Linked DNA regions of Homo sapiens: region 1 is linked to region 2. Evidence: promoter capture Hi-C in 16 types of primary human blood cells and fetal thymus (Javierre and others, 2016). All regions are on one chromosome and are shown on one strand. Each heading gives the region's core, a stretch centred on a gene start or on the middle of the fragment in contact. The rest is flanking DNA. Distances are from core to core; before and after follow the strand shown. Region 1 has its middle 140 kb from the start of VANGL1. Region 2 holds the start of NGF-AS1 (NGF antisense RNA 1).

Region 1 (6,825 bases), core at 1,985-4,484, 220 kb after region 2:
AAAAGGTAGAAGCAACCAAATGATCATCAATGGATGGATTAGTGCAGTGGTCCCCAACCTTTTAGGCACCAGGGACAGGTCTCATGGAAGACAATTTTTTCATGGGCCAGGGGCAGGTGGGGGTGGGTGGTTTCAGAATGATTCCAGCACATTACGTTTATTGCACACTTTATTTCTATTATTATTACATTGTAATATATATTGAAATAATTATACAACTCACCATGATCTAGAATCAGTGGGAGTTCTGAGCTTTTCTTGCCACTAGATGGTCCCATCTGGGAGTGATGGGAGACAGTGACAGATCAGCAGGCATTAGATTCTCATAAGGAGCATGCAACCTAGATCCCTCGCATGTGCAGTTCACAATAACGTTCGCACTTCTATGAGAATCTAATACCACTGCTGATCTGATAGTAGGAGGAGCTCAGGCAGTAATGTGAGCAATGGGAAGTGGCTATAAATACACATGAAGCTTCACCACTCACACCCTGCTGTGCAGCCTGGTTCCTAACAGGCCATGGACTAGTACTGGTCTGTGGCCCAGGAAGTTGGGGACCCCTGGATTAGTGGATAAATGAAATGTGGGACATACATGCAATGGAATACTATTTGCCTTAAAAAAAGAAAAAAAATTATAACATATGCTAGAACATAGATGAACCTTGAAGATATTATGCAAAGTTAATAAGCCAGTCACAAAAGGGCAACTATTACATGATTCCAGGTAAATAAGGCACCTAGAGTAGTAAAATTCGTAAATACCAAAAGTAGAAAAGTTGTTGTCAGGGCTGGGGGAAGGGACGAATGTAGAGTTATTGTTTAATGGGAACATTGTTTCAGTTGGGGAGATGAAAAAGTTCTGGAGGTAGATGGTAGAACTATTTGTACAGCAGTGGCAATGCACTTAATGTCACTGAACCATACACTTAAAAGTGATTAAAATTGTAAATGTTATGCTATGCATATTTTAGCACAATAAAAAATTGTAAATAACTTGTCTCAGAATGTAAAGTACCTGTCTTAGAAGGTCACAGTGAAGGCATAAATGTATATTTGGCATGATTCCGGAATATAGCAGGTGTTCACAAAATATGAACTCTTCTTTCTGGAAAGCCCTTGTTCTACTATCAGACTAGCTCTCATTCACAACTCAAACACACACGACTCTAAGAGCTTGTTCCAACTCTTTGTATTCACATCACCATTTTGTGCTGAGCATCCACCTCTGTTCTCCCACCCACATGCTTCTACTATGGTCCTGGCTTCTCTGTAGTTCATCCTTGCTTTTCTTCTCTGCCTTTCCCACTAGGCTGAGAGCTACTGAGAACACAGTGTGTGTCTGTTCCTTTCTTGTCCTAGGACCCAGTAGAGTAACCCTATACATGTTTAGAATATTCATCACACAAATATGGGAGGATCAATAATTTTAAAGGGGAAAATTTATTTAAAACACAGGCTTCACTTACATATAAGGACCTCCTTTTTAAATGTCAAACAACTTCATAAACCAATATGTAAACTATTACTTGAATTTTTAATATTTGAGGATAAAAATGTTGTCATGATCTGATGGTAGTAGAAATACAGCACTTTTTTAAAACGCACTAAGCCAAACGAAGTTTGATGCACAAATAGTTTTGTAAGTCAGTGGCTATAATTCCTGGCCCACTGGGGACCCAGGACCCTCATGTTGGCAACCATGCCTCTATACAATAGGGCATTTGCAGAGTAGGCTGATAACTAAAGATTAGTTTGTAGAAAGATGATAAAGCATTTGTGGTTTGTTTGTTCTGCATGATGGCATAGAAAAGGAAGCTTGTGACTGTTCTGGGGTTTGGTGGAAGGAAGAACTGTTGGAAACAGGCAATCCTAGAGCTGAAGGCCAGTCACTAGAAGGCTCACCAGTCAAGTTGAGGTTTTCTGAGAGGAAGAAGGCAAAGCTGTGTAGACTTCTGTGAGCTCATGATGTCTGGGCTGAAGAACACGTCAAGGATGTTAGTGTCCACATGGGAAAGAAGGTGGTCCATTGGGAGATGGTCAGTGCCAGCAAAGAAAGTCTACCTGGGACTGTGAGTCTGTGTTTGTTAGTTTCCTGGGGCTGCTGTAACAAAGTATCAGAAACTGAGTGGCTTAAACAAAAGATGTATTGCCTCCAAGTCTGAAGACCAGAAGTATGAGACCAAGGTGGTGTTAGGGTTGGTTCCTTCTGAGGGCTCTGAGGGAAAGAACCTGTTCCATGCCTTTCCCCTAGCTTTTGGTGGTTTGCTGTTAACCTTCAGTAATCCTTGCCTTCTACAAGCATCGCCAGTCTCCACAAGGCATTCTCCCTCTGCATGTGCAACTCCTGTTATTTATGGCTGATACGGTTTTACCATGTCCTCACCCAAATCTCATCTTGAATTGTAGTTCCCATAATCCCCATGTGTCGTAGGAAGGATCAGCTGAAGATAATTGAATCATGGGGGCAGTTTCCCCCACGCTGTTTTTATGATAGTCAGTTAGTTCTCACAAGATCTGATGGTTTTATAAGGGGCTTCCCCCTTCACCAGACACTCATTCTCTCCCCTGCTACCCTGTGAAGAGGTGCCTTCTACTGTGATTGTAAGTTTCCTGAGGCCTCCTCAGCCATGCAGAACTGTAAGCCAATTAAACCTCCTTCCTTTATAAATTACCCAGTCTCAGGTATTTCTTCATAGCAGCGTGAGAACAGACTAATACAGTAAATTGCTACTGGGTAGTGGGGTACTGCTGCAAAGATACCTGAAAATATGGAAGCAACTTTAGAACTGGGTAACAGGCAGAAGATGGAACAGTTTGGAGGGCTCAGAAGAAGACAGAAAGATGTGGGAAAGTTTGGAACTTCCTAGAGACTTGTTGAATACCTTTGACCAAAATGTTGATAGTGATATGGACAATGAAGTCCAGGCTGAGGCGGTCTCAGATGGAGATGAGGAACTTGTTGGGAACTGGAGTAAAGGTCACTCTTGCTATGCAAAGAGACTGGTGGCATTTTGCCCCTTCCCCATAGATCTGCGGGACATTGAACTTGAGATAGATGATTTAGGGCATCTGGTGAAAGAAATTTCTAAGCAGAAACGCATTCGAGAGGAAGCAAAGCATAAAAATTTGGAAAATTTGCAGCCTGACAATGTGGCAGAAGAGAAAAACCCATTTACTGGGGGGAATACAAGCTGGCTGCAGAAATTTGCATAAGTGATGAGGAACCAGATGTTAATCACTAAGATAATGGGGAAAACATCTCCAGGGCATTTCAGAGACTTTCATGACAGCTTCCCCTATTACAGGCCCCAAGGCCTAGGAAGGAAAAATGGTTTCCTGGGCCGAGTCCAGGACCCTCTGCTGCGTGCAGCATTGGGACTTGGTGCCTTGCATCCTAGCCACTCTAGCCATGGCTAAAAGGGGCCAATGTACAGCTGAAGCCATTGCTTCAGAGGGTGCAAGCCCCAAGCCTTGGCAACTTCCATGTGGTGTTGGGCCTGCAGGTGCACAGAAATCAAGAATTGAGGTTTGGGAACCTCTGCCTAGATTTCAGAGGATGTATGGAGAGGCCTAGATGTCCACACAGAAGTTTGCTGCATGGGTGGAGCCCTCATGGAGAACCTCTGCTAGGACAGTGTGGAAGGGAAACGTGGGGTTGGAGCCCCCACACAAAGTCTCCACTGGGGCACTGCCTAGTGGAGCTGTGAGAAGAGGGCCACCATCCTCCAGACCCCAGAATGGTAGATCCACTGACAGCTTGCATCATGTGCCTAGAAAAGCTGCAGACATTCAATGCCAGCCTGTGAAAGCAGCCAGGCAGGGGACTGTACCCTGAAAAGCCACAGTGGCACAGCTGCCTAAGGTTGTGGGAGCCCATATCTTGCAACAGTGTGCCCTGGATGTGAGACATGGAATCAGAAGAGATCCTTTTGGAACTTTAAGGTTTAATGACTGCACTATTGGATTTCAGACTTGCATGGGGCCTGTAGCCCCTTTGTTTTGGCCAATTTCTCTTTGGAATGGATGTATTTACCAAATGCCTGTACCCCATTGTATCTAGGAAGTAACTAGCTTGCTTTTGATTTTACAGCCTCATAGGTTGAAGGGACTTGCCTTGTCTCAGATGAGACTTTGAACTTGGACTTTTCAGTTAATGCTGGAATGAGTTAAGACTTTGGGGGACTGTTAGAAGGGCATGATTATGTTTTGAGCTGTGAGGACATGAGATTTAGGAGGGGCCAAAGGCAGAATGATATGGTTTGGATGTGTCCCCACCCAAATCATCTTGTAGTTTCCATAATCACCACGTGTTGTGGGAGGCATCAGGTGGAGATAATTGAATCATGGGGGCAGTTTCCCTCATCCCATTCTTGTGGTAGTGAGTTAGTTCTTATGAGATCTGATGGTTTTATAAGGGCTTCCCCCTTCGCTGGATACACATTCTCTCCCCTGCCACCCTGTGGAGAAGTGCCTTCCACCACGATTGTAAGTTTTCTGAGGCCTCCTCAGCCATATGGAATTGTGAGTCAATTAAACCTCTTTCCTTTATAAGTTACCCAGTCTCAGGTATTTCTTCATAGCAGCATGAGAATGAACTAAAACAATGGCATACCTTATAACTTCATTTTCCCAAGAGTAACCTAGGGTGAAGCTTTAAAGCCTATACAAAATAAATACAAATAGATGTCATGTAGAGTAGAATCAGGCTTTGCCATTAATACAAATAAACTTTGGCAGAGAGCAGTAACATTTGAGTGGCAGAGAGGAGTGTACATCCCATAATCAAGGCCAGGGCTCAGCAAAGTTTTCTCATAAAGGGCCAGATAGTAAATATTTTAGGCTTTGGGAGATATGGTCTCTGTTATAATTAGCACAACTCTGCCACTGCATCATGAAAACAACCACAAACAATTACTAAACAAATAAGCATCACTGTTGCAATAAAACTTTATTAGCAAAATCAGGCTGTGGTCCAGGTTTGGCCCATTTACCTTACTGGCGAAGAGTATTCTTCACTCTACTAAATCCTTTCCCTTTTTTCTTGCTCTTCTTCTTTCCTTGGTGTCATTCCTCACATCAATTATATCTCCTCTTGCAACTTTACCTCTAACCTAACCCTTGTGGCTTTTCTTACCCTTCATGCAACTTACCATGAAGGATCTTCTGCCCCCACAGCAACCTCTCCTCATTGCAGTCTTCCACTTTTTTCCATTCCTCCCCAACTATGCAGCTTCTTCTTCAAAGCATCCTTTCTTCTCCATTCCAATTCTAACTCTGACATTGATTCAATCTCCCCACCCCATCCCATATCCACAAAGAAGACAGCATCAGCATTTGTGTGAGGCAATTCAATCCTGAGCTTGAGCCACACAGTGTATATATAACCATATGTAGGCAATGGAAAATACTTGCAGATCATTCATCTCAATTTATGAACCTCTTTGGCAGCCTTTGTTCTACTCTCACATGTGGCTCTGCCAAGTTTATAAATACTTCCTCTGGATGACAATAAATTTGGTCTCCCCTAATCATTCACTCCACAGATAAAATCTCATTGAGGTTGCAATAGCACTGACACTTAAAGTTAAGTGTTTTCTTGCTTGGTCTTAGCACTCTAGCCAAATGGATTTTGAGGGCCTCCTATTCATGGGTCACAGCTGCTTGACTCAAGGATTTTTGCCTATGCATGCCCTGACAGTCAGATACTAACTCACTTGGATGCCTGCCTCTCACACTGCTCTACTTTATGAAGTCAAGACCATTAATAAAATCCAGTTTACAGAAAGGCCTAGAGAAGGTTATTTCTCTGAACACTTCGCTGTACCTACTTCCATAACAGATGAACTTACCAGATGTAACAGAAGCGGTTCTTCTGTTCTCGTGGAAGATGAAGTTGTCCTTTGTTTTGATGAGTCCTGAAGGACTTAAAGGTAAGAAAACATATTCATAATATATTATCCTTTTCTGCTTTTTCCCTTAATTCTTGCCAGTTGCTAAACGCAGTGCCAGGTATATTAAGACTTTTTTTAAAAGGCATCTTCTTGTTATCACTACTATCAGCATCACAACACTCTTTCCTCTTTTCTGTATCTACTCAGCTACACAAAGCTCACTTGACAGCTTTGTAATTTTTTTTAAAAGTGGTTAATCCAGACTACAATTATCTCAATTTTAGTTTGTTGCCTGAATTGATAATTGATGGATCAATCCTTTTTTTTTCAGTGCAATGAAAATTACTATGTCATTAAAATAATGGAAATATGCTGTGGCAGGGGAAGGGAATCACCTTTGAATTCTATTTTATTTCCCTATTTATTTTTAAATATATGTGTAGAGAGAAGAGTCAGGGAGGCACAAAGGAAAATAAGCAAGAATAAAGGCCACAGGGTCATGAGGAAAGACACAGGTGCCCAGGTGGTGCAGGGAACCTGTTTTTGTCCCTTTTTGTTTTCCTTCTCCTCTGTCATTCCTCTGCTTCTGTGTCCTCCTTATCTCTCCCTCTTTTCTTTTCAGTTTCTCTCAATTTAAAATAAATTAGAACGTAGAATCAAAACGTCATGTTTTATTTTTCAAAGATTATTATTACCAGCTAAATAACATTGGTAATTTTTATTTTGAGTTTCGTACAAATTAGTTATTGATTACTAATTATTTGAGAACAGGATTTTTGTTTGGATTCTTAGCCTGTTGCTTCCACATGCTCTGAGAGGTGTAAATTTACATGGAAAATAAAATATCTTCCTGGTCAGAACAGAAGTCATTCATGATGATTTAGCTTATTTCGGTTCTTCCTTTTTTTCCCTTCTCCCCTCCCTCTCTGTC
Region 2 (6,917 bases), core at 4,361-6,860:
GAGTTTTGCTTTTTGTTACCACGAGTCATCCAAGCCCTTTGATGTATGTTGGGCCCTCTTGCTCATAGACCTCAGTCCTATCATCACTTTCCCCAGCCATGAATCTTATCCTGTGTGATTGCTCAATGGGGAAGAAGTCTTGTCTGACAGGAGGCCGAGGGAAGGCTTCCTGGAACATGTGTAGAAAAATCAGGAAAATGACCCAAGTGAAAGGTAAGCACAGAAGAAGAAAATTAGCAGCAAACTGATAGCTTTCCCAGCTGGAATCCCTGCCTGTGCTGAATCCAGAGGCTGCTGGAAAAACTGAGCAAGACTGATTTAGGGGGAGTTTCACCCAGATTTTGGTCTTCTGGCTCTTGCTCTGTGTAGAATCATGTTGTAAAATAAAAGTAAAAAACAAAAAACAAAAAACAAAAAAAAAAACTTCAGTCTCTGAAACAACATATTTTCCAGAGATAAACTTATATTTACCACCTAAGGCTGCATATCTGTGGCACCAGATACCTAAATGTAAACCAGAGAGCTTCACTGGGTGATCTGAATATGCGATTTCTGGTATACACAGACAACATTTACTTTGATTTTATTGCTTAGAGCAACTATTAATTCAGAGAACTTGTTGGCCATCTGTTCTGATAAACTTTTGGTGGTTTGAATTCTTTGCAAAATTTTTTTCCAGCTAAGCTTCTCTTGTGACAATCATAAGCCTCATTTTTATTGTGTTCATGATCTTTTGCTCAAAATAGTGATATTTTTATTTAATGGATAAAAGAGAGATTGTGATTACAGCAACAACTGTTATAGGCTGAGAAAGGAGCCAACTTAAGAAAGAAGGAATAGAACTGGTTGTTATTTTTAAAGGACATTCTTCAAATACGACAAACTGTAAATAAACTGTATATTGCCCTTTGAGAGTAAGAGCCTGAGGTGGAAACTCCACATATGGCCATCAGGAGGCCTGGTTTGGGGTTTTCAAATGCTTCAAATGACTCCTGACATGGTTTGACTACGGAATTCATCTACTTAAAGCTGAAAGAAGACAAACTCTGAAACTGATGGGAGCTACTTGTTTCACACATTGAACTGTGACATTTTTCATTTTTACAACCATTGCTGATTAAGTGTTATGTAAACTCTCCTGGGTGCAGTAAAAACAGCCCCTCTGGGAAGCTTTAGGACCGTCCAAGATGTCTGACACTGAGGAGGAGGACTCTCTCTTTTGCTATCAAGAAGAAGAAGAAACTGAGGATAAGAGTAGAGAGAATGCTTGCTCAGATTTATTTCAAGAGGGAAAACCTCCACCTCAGGCCTCCAGTGCTGTGCTTTGCTTGCCACCAAGTCTTTTTTCTACAAATAGCACCAAGGCTGGTGCTGTGTAGCAGGTGCCTTGCTCTTTCTGCCTCTTGTCAAATATACCTTCAAGGTCTGACATACACCCTCTCCTTCCTACCCATGTCTCCACCTCCAGCTTCCTTCTGGGATAGGTTCCTACCTTCTTGAGACTTGGTTGTCATCCGCACCACATTTTCCCCAGTATGATGTTAGTCAGACGGGCCTCTTTCTGACTTCTCCTTACCAAAGGCAGAGGGTGGAATCCCACTAGTGGAGCTCAAGCCAGGAGCGCTCTGTCCAAGGCCAGTTGGCCTGAGAACCAAAGAAATGAGCCTTGTCAGAGTTCCTAAGCAAGAACAGGTCGAGACTATTGGGGAGCCACGTGTGGTGTAGGACCTCGCTGTTCAAAGCGCAGTCCCTGGAGCAGCACTATGTACGTCATCTAGGGGTTTGTTAGACATGCAGGATCTTAGTCCCCCATCCATCACCTACTGAATCAGACCTGATTCACGTGAACCTGAAAGTTTGAGAAACACTTCCATAGAGATCCCAGGGCAGGATTACGGTTAGGGGTGCAGGGCCAGCTGAGAGTTTGGAATTTGGTAGGTTTGAGACAGGAGTGGGAGCAGGTCATCGATAAGCAGGTGGAGGCCAAGGTGTGTGTGGGGGTGGGCCGGGTGATTGCTGCCTACACCAGAGGGTGTTGGGGCTGCCTCTATGTGCTGTGGGTATGTGGTCTATGGGTATATCCAGACTGAAAGTTGAAAGTAACACCCAATCCTCTATTCAGTCTCCATCTGGGATGTAAGAGCCTGGAGGACAGGGGCCCCATCTTACTCCTGTGTCTACTCTGGGCCTAGCATGGCACCTTACCCATCACAGATGTGCTGTCAGTGTCTGCTGAACTGAATAAGGTCCCCTTGGCCTAACCTGTCAATCACACAGGTTGGGGTGATTGTAGTGGAGTCACCATTGATTCTGTACTTTCCTCAGGAGTCTCCTGGTGACATAATGACATTTTGATATTTTCTTCAGGAAAAAAGCACCCTGCTGGATTAGATAGGGTCCAGCATCACAACCCTTGAGAGTCCAAGCAATGCCCCAAAAGACCCAGGCCTCTGCCTGGGTGTCAACTCGTCAATGTGCCATTTCTGCAAAAAGGAAAATGGACCTGCTGTTTCTTGCTGTTATTGTCTGAAAAGTCAGTGCCCAGATGCCAAGCCCAGAGCCTTGCTGTGCACTCGGGAAACCGTTATTGCCAGCCTCTGCAGACCCTCAGGAATGAGCTCTGCTTGCAACAGCCTTCTCCTGGCAAGAGTTAACACTAAGGTGCAGCTGAAGGAATGTGAAGACTGGAGAGCCAGTTTGGGGGATTGCTATTGCAATCAGAAGACAGCCCAAGTCAGAGTTCCAAAGCCCTTTGAAGGGATGCCAGCTCAGACACATGTTTCCAATTATCATATGCAATCTCGAGACAGTGTGCAAGTTGCACTTTCATTATGTCAAAGTGAAAGGAATGGTGGGGGCGAGATAAAGGGGAGAGGCCGCTAAGCTGGAGGCTGCACTTAGCTGTGGCACCAAACGTTAGCCAAGGCGCCGGGCTGGCCTCTCCAACCCAAGTCTCCCCCTGGAGCCAGGGGTGCATGGTACGTACTCTGAGAGCCTTTTTTTTCTTCTTGTTTTGGGGATCGAGGAAACCCAGCTGATATGGCTGGAGGAGGCCCCATCTTCAGGAAGATATTTGACCAGCTCTTTGGTGTTTGGTCTTAACAGAGACAAGATTTTGTGAAAACCATATGGGGACTTTAACTGTGTCTTCCTACAGGATTTCACAGGGTTATTCTCTGAATTCTTCTAAGGTCTGTAATTGCAGGAGAAACTAACTCCTCTGCCAGTTGTAGCTCAGAATGAAGTGAGAGAACAGACAGAGACTCTCAATTCTATTAGCGGTCTCTCTCCCATTGGGGCTGGGCAGCCTCTTGGTTGGATTTTACCTTGTTCATAATTCTGGAGTAAGTCTCAGCACAGGACAATAATTTCACTCAACTTATTTTCCGCACGTAGTTCAAAATCGTTTCCTCCAGGAAGTCTTTCCTGGCTTACTCTTTCCATTGGATTACTTCTTACTACTGTAGCCATTGTTTAGAATGTTTATTGGATGGATTTGTATGTTGCACTGTGCTTTTAAGTCAGTGGGTGGGTGCATGTGAGTGTAGAATGTGCACTTCTTGGCTGCTTCTTAGCTTCCAGGGGTTATTCACACATATACACACACACATAAGCACACACACTATCCTTGTGTGTGTATGTTTGTATATTGTGTCTATTTCTGTGCATATATGTATATGTAGCTGTGTGTACTGTATATTTACATATGTTTCATATACAATGATTTATTATGTACCAAACATTGGACCAAATGCCTTACAATACAATGAAGTAGGTTCTCTTATTTTCACCTACATTTTACATGTAAGAAAACTGCAGTGCAGAGAGAGAAGTAATTTGTCCAGTGTCACTCAGCCAAGCTATGGGTGAGGCCAGGCTTTATCCCTGATGGTCTGATCTTGCTCTTGATACCAGCCTCTGAAAATTACCCAGATGTGTCACATGCCTCAGGGAGGACCCTGTTTTCAACTGAGACCATTAACGCATTTATGGCTAACACAAGGTAGGTGCGGGGATAGGAGGAGATAGGCTGTGGATGGTGGGGATGGAGAAAAAGATGGAAACTAAGTTCTGTCTTCCCTTCCTTAGGACATTGATTGCCTGCCACATGCAAGATTGGGTCCAGGTGCTGAAGAAACACAGATGTGCTGCATCCTTGACTTTAAGGAGCATCCCTGGGTTGGAGGGATTCTCTGCAGGCTGCTGTGGTGGAGGGAAGATTTGCCCAACTTACTCTTGGCGCTGGACCCCCTGAGCCATCTTCACACACCCAGGTGAACTTTGGGAAGGTAACAGCTTTTCAGTTGCAAACCCAAGTGAATTAGAGCAAAACAGATCCCACGTGCTTGACACATGGAAACTTTCAGAGCCAATGGTTTATAAACTTACCAAGAGCTGGGGGAGTAAACACATCCCAGGGAACTGTGGAGCACTTCTCTGGCATTGATACACATAAGCAGAAAGCACAGCCTTCCCCGACACTTGCCTTAAGATAGTCTTTTGTCTTAGAACCCAGAGGCTTACCTGAGCTAAACCACATAAAGTGCTTAGTGCGATGCCTTGAACATACCAAGCTCTTAATAAACGCTAAGGTCACTATTAGCATTGCTTGTCATGGAATAAACCTAGGATACATCTATAAAACTGTCCATAATCTTCCTTGCCTTGTGGAAAGTTGTTCCACTATTCCAACATCCTTTTAGGGGTTCTCAGCTAATCTACCTTTCAAAACGAAAATTTATTATACACTTCTTAAGTGCTAGGTAGTTTTGTATATTTATGTGTATTATCTCATTAAATGATCTCTCAGCCCTCTGAGAAAAGCACTATTATCATCCATATTTCACAGATGAAGAAATCGTCAGAGTTTCCATATATCATTGTCAGAGATGTTAAGCAACTTGCTTAAGGTTACACAGCCTTAGCAGAAGTACTTGTTTGACTCCAAAGCCTACCATTATGCTGGAATCACTAGAATCCAGGTGGCCTATCTGAACCCGGATTCAGGCATCTGAAGCTGAATAGCTGCCATTCTTGCTTTTAACCTCCTGGTAAAAGCAGGCTATGCCTGATCTATCTATCTATCTATCTATCTATCTATCTATCTATCTATCTATCTATCAATCATCTATCTATCTGTCTATCTATCTATCTATCATGGCCTGGCTATGCCACATCTATATTCCATGATGTCCACTGACCAGAGGGTTTCCCTTATCCAATCCATACATGTGCCAATAAACAAACATTTAGTGAGCACCAACATAGTTGCTTCTCTCCTATAATCAACACAGGAATGGTTAAGTTTGGAATAAATTACTTTTCCTAACACTTGCATAGGACTGGACTGTTTGCTTTCAAATACTTGGTTTTGCTTCATGCTCACAACTCTGGGATATAGGAATGATTATTTTCATTTCACAGCTGCAAGAACCAAGCTCAAAGAGGAACTGCTGCTTGCCAAAGTTTCACAGATAGAAATGGGGGAGCTGGGGCCAGAACCCAGCTCTGCTGACACCAAGCCCAGAGTTTGTACCATGACACTGGGCTGCTCCCTCGGAGCTGGGTTTGGCTGATGACCTCAACTCTGAGCACCCGTTGCCTCCCACTGTTCCGTTCAGGCCTGTGCGAGAAAGACTCCCAGGCCCCTGGGTTCTCCATAGCCCACACTTCCACTCGGCTCCGCTTCTCTTGCCCAGCTGTCTCTCCTCCAAGGAGCGGACAGGGCGGACACGAGACCCGGGTGCCCTTTTGTCCTCTATTCCAGCTCTGGGCGGATCCTCCTCCCATGATGTGGATGATGCTGAGGAGAAAGTGGTAAGGCTTTTAGGAGGAACACTCCTGATTCACGGAAATGAAAATAGCTGCTGGGTTGTTGCTGAAACTCTGTCCCCATGGTGGGCTTTCTATTAGCAGGGAAGGGGTCAGGCTGGCGCTCTGGTTGCTGGAGGGCGTCAGAGGGACAACTGAGTGTACCCCAGAGTCAGGCACCCTGCGGTCTCCCAGGCCGGGGCCTGAGCCTTGCTAGGAGGGCGGACAGCCAGGGCCGGCGCTAGTTTTCTTGGGCGTGGTGGAGGACGCCTTCCACCAAACGAAGTTGCCGAGAGGAGTCAGATCTGCTCTCACCTTTTGGGCTTTTGGGGAACCCAGGCAGAAAAATCTCAGTGAGGCACAGGAAGGAAAATTTTGCAAAATGTGCTGCTGCCGCTCCTCAGCAGAGTATAGTGGGCGGTTTGAAGCTGTTTTCTTGGTGTTCAAGTGGCTGGGGCCCTGGCGACCCCGGTCAGCCTTTCTGGGGCAGCCCGGGTGGGTCTGAAAGCCAGGGCTCCCCTCCGTGTGTGGGAGCAGAGCCCAAGCTGCGGAAACCACCGGGCGCGGGGTTGTTTTTGGAAGGCTCCGACGCCGATCAGCCAAACTGATATCCCTTATATTGTGTGAAAACATTGGCTCCCACGCTGGGACTCCAGTGTTTCCGCCTAGAGCAGATTTTGCCTTTGGGAAGGTGGTGGTGTTCCTGGGATGAGGGGCCCTCCTCTTACCGGACACGCAGGAGAGCAGCCCACATGGAAGTGAGGGCCTCAGCCTTCGTGCTCCCTCAGACGGTCCTCCCTCTCGGCTGCCCAGGGGAGCCAAAGACATTTTTTAGATGTCCCAGTGTCTTGCAGTGCCGCGGGCAGCACTCCAGGACCCTCTTTGTTGGTGTAGCTGCTCACAAGCCAACCTTCCTGATGGGGAGCTTCCTGAAGGCCTCCCTCTCCACTCCTCTCCCCACATCCCAGGCCCAAAGTCCAGTCCTAAGAGAAAAAAAGCCACCCAGAAACTTTGTAGGGGCACCTAGGACGGCTGAGACCACTGGCATTGGACCCCAGTAAAAGTCACAGACACAGATCACTGGGAGGGCTCCTCCCTGAGGCCTT

What was found. The method cuts DNA at HindIII sites, captures the fragments that hold promoters and counts their contacts. A CHiCAGO score of 5 or more calls a contact.
Region 1: a contact is called between a fragment that was not itself captured here and the fragment with the promoter of NGF-AS1 in region 2, in 2 of 17 cell types (M1 macrophages and M0 macrophages). The highest score is 5.4, in M1 macrophages.

Annotation. Positions count from the first base shown.
Region 1 is chr1:115,499,828-115,506,652 of GRCh38, forward strand. No RefSeq gene overlaps it. Among named protein-coding and RNA genes, the nearest start is that of VANGL1, 140 kb to the right of the region's middle. The HindIII fragment of the contact is 2,836 bases long and covers 1,817-4,652 here.
Region 2 is chr1:115,277,424-115,284,340 of GRCh38, forward strand. It overlaps NGF-AS1 (NGF antisense RNA 1), which reads left to right and starts at 5,611. Exons shown (of 2, transcript NR_157569.1): 1 at 5,611-5,817. The HindIII fragment of the contact is 8,535 bases long and covers 1,169-6,917 here.